2 separate regions of the Homo sapiens genome follow, and region 2 is linked to region 1. The links are contacts of gene promoters, found by promoter capture Hi-C in blood cells and fetal thymus (Javierre and others, 2016). All regions are on one chromosome and are shown on one strand. Each heading gives the region's core, a stretch centred on a gene start or on the middle of the fragment in contact. The rest is flanking DNA. Distances are from core to core; before and after follow the strand shown. Region 1 holds the start of SMIM19 (small integral membrane protein 19). Region 2 has its middle 5.1 kb from the start of GOLGA7.

Region 1 (2,700 bases), core at 124-2,623:
AACCCGGGAGGCGGAGGTTGCAGTGAGCCAAGACAGTGCCATTGCACTCCAGCCTGAACGAGAGCAAAACCCCGTCTCAAAAAAAACAAAACAATAACAATAATGTACACGTTTCACATTTGGACACACTGAAATCAAACTCACGTATTCAAATTTTTTTAGATTAAGTTACATAAAGCATGCACACCATTTGGCACAGGCCCGGCAAACAATCAGTACTCAACATCACCTGTTATTTTCCTGATTTTCCAACTTTAGAGTCAAACTAAATGTTATAGAATTATATGTATGATTATGTATATACAATATATATAAATACATATAAATACCGTAAATTAAGCTAGTATGTTATTGCGTAAAGTAATGGTCTTACCCTAGACGAAGGTGAGTTTAATTGTAACAGATGAAACAAAGAATAGAAAACTTGTTAAGAAGTGTTCAATGTAAGCTCTCATCTCTGCAGGGTTTCATGTGACTTATAATTACCAGTCAGCTGGTCCTAGAGAACTTAATCAAAATGTATAGTAAAGACGAACTACGTGGACCAGTGGCCATTTATCTGCAAGGTGGCACCAGCCACTGACATCTGATCACTTCCATACTGATGCTGAAATCCTATGCAAATTCATTACTTAGGTCAAGCTGGGAAACACTTCTGTCAAGTCACTACACAATTAAATAAAAATACCCAAAAGGGACTTACACTGACAATGCTATAGCATCCTGGCCATATCCAGTTTTGAAAACACTACGGTGTCAGCCACGCACCATTTAGGACGGGGAGAATGGAAAGCCAGTTTGGAGAACAGACGCTTTCTTAAGAGTACACGTGAATATGAAAAGGGACTCTATGCTCTCAAGACCAAAAAAGAAATCCTCTGCGCCGCCCGGCTACATTGCGCCTGGTGGGACAATGTACACGACCCCTCCCCCGCCGAGTCCCACCCCAAGCGCGCACAGCGGAGCAGGAGGCGCCCGGCACTCGCAGGTAATGCCCGGTCCCTGCCACTTCCGTCGAGTTTTCGCAAAGGCGCCGCACGGCAAGCGACGGCCAGGTCCACGTGGGCCAGCAGGCGCGGGGGACGCAACCCGCCGCCGCCGCGAGCCCCGCCGGCGCCGACCAGCCCTGGCCCCCACCCGCGGGAGCCCGGGAGTCGGGCCGGGGGCTCGCGGGAGGCGGCGCGCGCAGCCCGGGCGGGGGTCGCGGCGCGGTAGGGGAAAGGAGCCCGGCTCCACTCACGCGCCCGGGGGCGGCACTGGGGCCGCCGCTGCGTCTCTCCGGCTCAAAAAACTGAAAAGGGGAAAGGAAAAAAAAAAAAAAAAGACCTGGCTCCTCGTTTCATCCGGAAACCGACCGGCCGGCAGGAAATGACGAAGGCAGAGGGCGTCCAGGTCCGCTCGGTAACCGTTTCCCGCGCGCCCGGCCCCGACTCCGGGGTAAAGAGCCCCGGAGCGGAGCAGCGCTGGCCGCGTGCCGCCTCCGGAGCCGGCAGCGTGAGTGGCCCCGCGTCCCCGCTTCTCCCGGTCCCCGGCGGGGCCGCGTCACCCGGCCCCGCCCCGCGCCGCCCGCCCCGCCCCGGACGCGGGGGTAAGGGGGGTGGCCGCCCGCCTGCCCTCGGTCCCGTGCGGTCCCCGAAACTCCGAGCACCCGCCCGGTCCCGGCGCGGAGCCCCTCGGCGTCGCGTGGAGCTGCGAGTCGCCCGCTTCCGGAAGCGCACACGGGCCAGTTGCGGCGGCCCATCTGCCGGGGCGGCGGGGGCTCGGCGGGAGGGTTGAGGCTGAATCACGCGCAGCCTGCGGGCGGCGGAAACGTCCCTAGAGCCTCGCCGCCCTGGGACCCGGGCTGCTTCCTGGGAGAGGATTACATTTTCTCCCTGCTCCACTTGACTTTCTTCCGGAAGGAGCAGGTCTCGCAGGATCGGGGCCAAGACTGGAAGAGTTCAGGTTTGGGAGTCGTGTGTATAACAGCCCCGCGCCTCCACGCCCAGGCCTGTGTGGCTTTGGACAAGTTATATAACCACCGCCGCCACCCCAGTTTCTTCTCCTGTAAAATGGAGCTTTAGTGCCGCCCAGCAGGGTTGTTGGGATAATTCAGTGACTCTGTGGACTGCCCAGCACCTGTGAATTGCTTTCCTGGATGTTGGGTGAAGGCCTGTGAGCTTGTATGTACCCTTTGGCTTCAGAATACCAAGCCTTTAGTGTTTCAGAGGGATGAGAGAAAGAAATCCCATTTTTTGATGCAGAGGATTTTGTTGTAAGGGACTCTAGGAACTAAGTGGTTCCAATGTGAATTTGTATCAAAGTAACAAAGTTCTAAGTGAGAGACAAAAATGATAACATTCAAGGCACGATGACAAGCGGTGGTCAATTTTAGAATCACCTAGACGTGACATCAGGAACCCAAAATCACGACACAGATTTTAAAGCTTATGATACAGTGACCTAGTCCCTAGAAAAAGTAGTTCTCGGCTGGGCACGGTGGCTCACGCCTGTAATCCCAGCACTTTGGGAGGCTGAGGCGGGCGGATTGCCTGAGCTCAGGAGTTTTGAGACCAGCCTGGGCAGTATAGTGAGACGACCCCCACCCCACCCCCGTCTTTAAAAAAAAAAAAATAAGAATTACCCAGGCATGGTGGCACTTGCCTGTATTCCCAACTACTTGGGAGGCTGAGGCAGGAGAATCCCTCGATTCTGGGACGT
Region 2 (2,700 bases), core at 47-2,546, 1.1 Mb before region 1:
CCGTAGAAATTAATCCTTTGTGTTAGTGAGTATTTGTCCTTTATGGGAAAATTAGACATAACATGCAGTGCACATGGAAGAGCCCACAGGGGGAATTGTGAAGTTTTCATCCCTAGAGGTCATAAAGATAGTTGAAATAGTGCCAGATTCTAAGAAGGACACCTGGGCCAGATGTTTACCAGGCCCCTCCAACTCAAGGGAGGTACAATTCTAAGGAGGGAGGTCTTTTTTTTCTTTTCTTTTCTTTTTTTTTTTTTTTTTTTTTTGAGACCGAGTTCCACTCTTGTTGCCCAGGCTGGAGTGTAGTGGCGCGATCTCAGCTCACTGCAACTTCCACCTTCTGGTTTCAAGTGATTCTCCTGCCTCAGCCTCCCGAGTAGCTGGGATTACAGGGGCATGCCACTACCTCGGGCTAATTTTTGTATTTTTAGTAGAGACGAGGTTTCACCATGTTGGCCAGGCTGGTCTCCGACTCCTGACTTCGTGATCTGCTTGCCTCGGCCCCCCAAAGTGCTGGGATTACAGGCGTGAGCCACCGCACCCAGCCTGTTTTTCTTTTTACTTTTGTCAAAACTGCCGTCAAATCAGGTTCCACAGAAGATATGGACAGTTAATCATCTATCCCAGATAATGATGGTGTGTTCCCACTAGATGCCCTCATATTTCTTCCATCCACAACTAGCTATATGATTTTTGAGGCCCAGTGCAAAATTAAAGTGCAGACTCCCATGTTCAGAAAGTATTACGAATTTCAAGATGATGACAGCAGGACATTAAGCCAAGAAGAGAGCTCTTCTCAGTGCAGATCCCTATGCAACTATACAAGTCACACACCCGTGACACCACCCTTGCTTCCAGCTCTGCAATTCTACACTGTGCTGGTGAAAAGAGTCTGAAATCTCCAAACCCTCTTATCCACCAGCCACTTCAGATATGAGAGGTCTTCAATAGGATCCTAAACAATAAAGGCAAAGGACCCTTATTAATGACATCATTCAATCTGCTCTTCTCCCTCACAATGAAATAAACAAAAATGTAAGCAAGAGCAGCTCTTTCATGGAGAGAGCATTCAGTACAACTGTCTGGCATCTGTTCAGCCTGTTTCCTGAAACTGGGACACACGTTGTTTTAGATGGTGAAATTTAAATGGAAGGAACAGATGCTGTCAATTCAGGTATGCCAATAATGTTCTCTCAAAATGCAATAAAGACATACAAGCTTATAAAACGGAAGCTGACTTGAAATTACCAGCAAATGCATGAAAACAAAGAGACAATGATCCTTGGAGTTCTGCCCATTGTACCAGTGCATGGTAGACACTAGAACTGAAAACGAGGAAAATGGATTTGATCTGCCCCCACCCCAGTCATGCCTCAAAGCTTTAGAAGAAAACAACTACTACAAAAAAAACGATGTTAGACGAAACGGGGATGGCTTCGGTGAGCAACGTGAGCATGGCCAAGGAGGACAGTTTAAAATTTCTTTAGTATAAGGACGTCTTTCAATCCAATTGAGATCTTTATGAAGGACCTGGGAGGAAGTGGTTGGACACAAATAGAACAAAGCCCAGGAGAGATCGTAGCTGAAGAGAAGACGCCATCTGCAGCGTGGGAAGCTGTTTGTAAGCAGGGCCGAAAATGATCCAGGATGGGTCAAAAGTTGAACATGAGTTGGTGATACAGAATGGGACCCCGCATTGAAAAGCTAGCTTTGTTCCAATAGAGAAAAAAAAACAGAGTTGAAAATGGAGGGACAAAAGGATTTCACTGATAATATTCAGCACAGGTTAACGCTCTTATCAGAGTATCTAGTTTGAAACACCAGAAGGTTCTGAGAGTCATACAAAAAGACAGAAACTTTGGAATAGAGATCCTACCATCGAAGATAAAGGAAGCTGGTTCATTCACCTTGGAGAAGAAACGATAGAGGGGTGTGTAAAAGGATATAAGATTTTTATCACCATCTCTCTTCTCTATTAAAGATCTCTCATCCCTACTCCCACCTGACCCTCACCCAAGCAGACTTCAGATCCTACTTATTTCAGGTATGAATACTTATCATTCCCTGGACAGAGAGGCTGGAATGCCCAATTATCTCTCCTTCTGTTAAAACCCCTCCCCTTCCCCAAAGTTTTTTAACCTGTTATAATCTCCCTCCTCCCACCCTCCTGGCCACCCATAAGAATGTGAATTTCCACAGGACATAAATAATCCACACTTTTTTTATCCTTTCATCACCAGCCCTTATGAGTGTCGACAAATATTTGTTGAATGAATTCATTTTCAAAGCATTTCATGAGAATCTATTATGGACAGAGGAATAAAATAGATAATATGTAGGCTTCAAAGAAGCTAAACATAGACAAGGGACTCAAAATTCAAAAAGGAAGAATGAATTGTCAATACTGTAGACTAATAGCTTGACTTCAGCTCCTTAAAATATCAGAGGATTGTTGAAAACATAGAAAGGAATAAAATAATAGTGTAGGGCTAGTGAGCTCATAGATTATAGATCATATCTGTATTATATAGTATTATCATTGTTTGGCCAGGGTTACTAGATTAATAGATATAGTAGAGATTATATGAGGTAATGCATATAAACCGCTCAACCTAGTTCCTTAACACTAATAGCCCAATGAATAGTAGCTGCTGCTATCATGATGTTAATGTTAGCAAATCATTTGACTATGTCACTAAT

Evidence for each region. The method cuts DNA at HindIII sites, captures the fragments that hold promoters and counts their contacts. A CHiCAGO score of 5 or more calls a contact.
Region 2: a contact is called between a fragment that was not itself captured here and the fragment with the promoter of SMIM19 in region 1, in 1 of 17 cell types (naive B cells). The highest score is 5.1, in naive B cells.

Annotation. Positions count from the first base shown.
Region 1 is chr8:42,540,212-42,542,911 of GRCh38, forward strand. SMIM19 (small integral membrane protein 19) reads left to right here and starts at 1,374. Exons shown (of 4, transcript NM_001135674.2): 1 at 1,374-2,162. It also overlaps a transcript of SLC20A2 not described here. RefSeq lists silencers at 955-1,234, 1,375-1,794. The HindIII fragment of the contact is 8,293 bases long and covers 1-2,424 here.
Region 2 is chr8:41,484,132-41,486,831 of GRCh38, forward strand. No RefSeq gene overlaps it. Among named protein-coding and RNA genes, the nearest start is that of GOLGA7, 5.1 kb to the right of the region's middle. The HindIII fragment of the contact is 161 bases long and covers 1,217-1,377 here.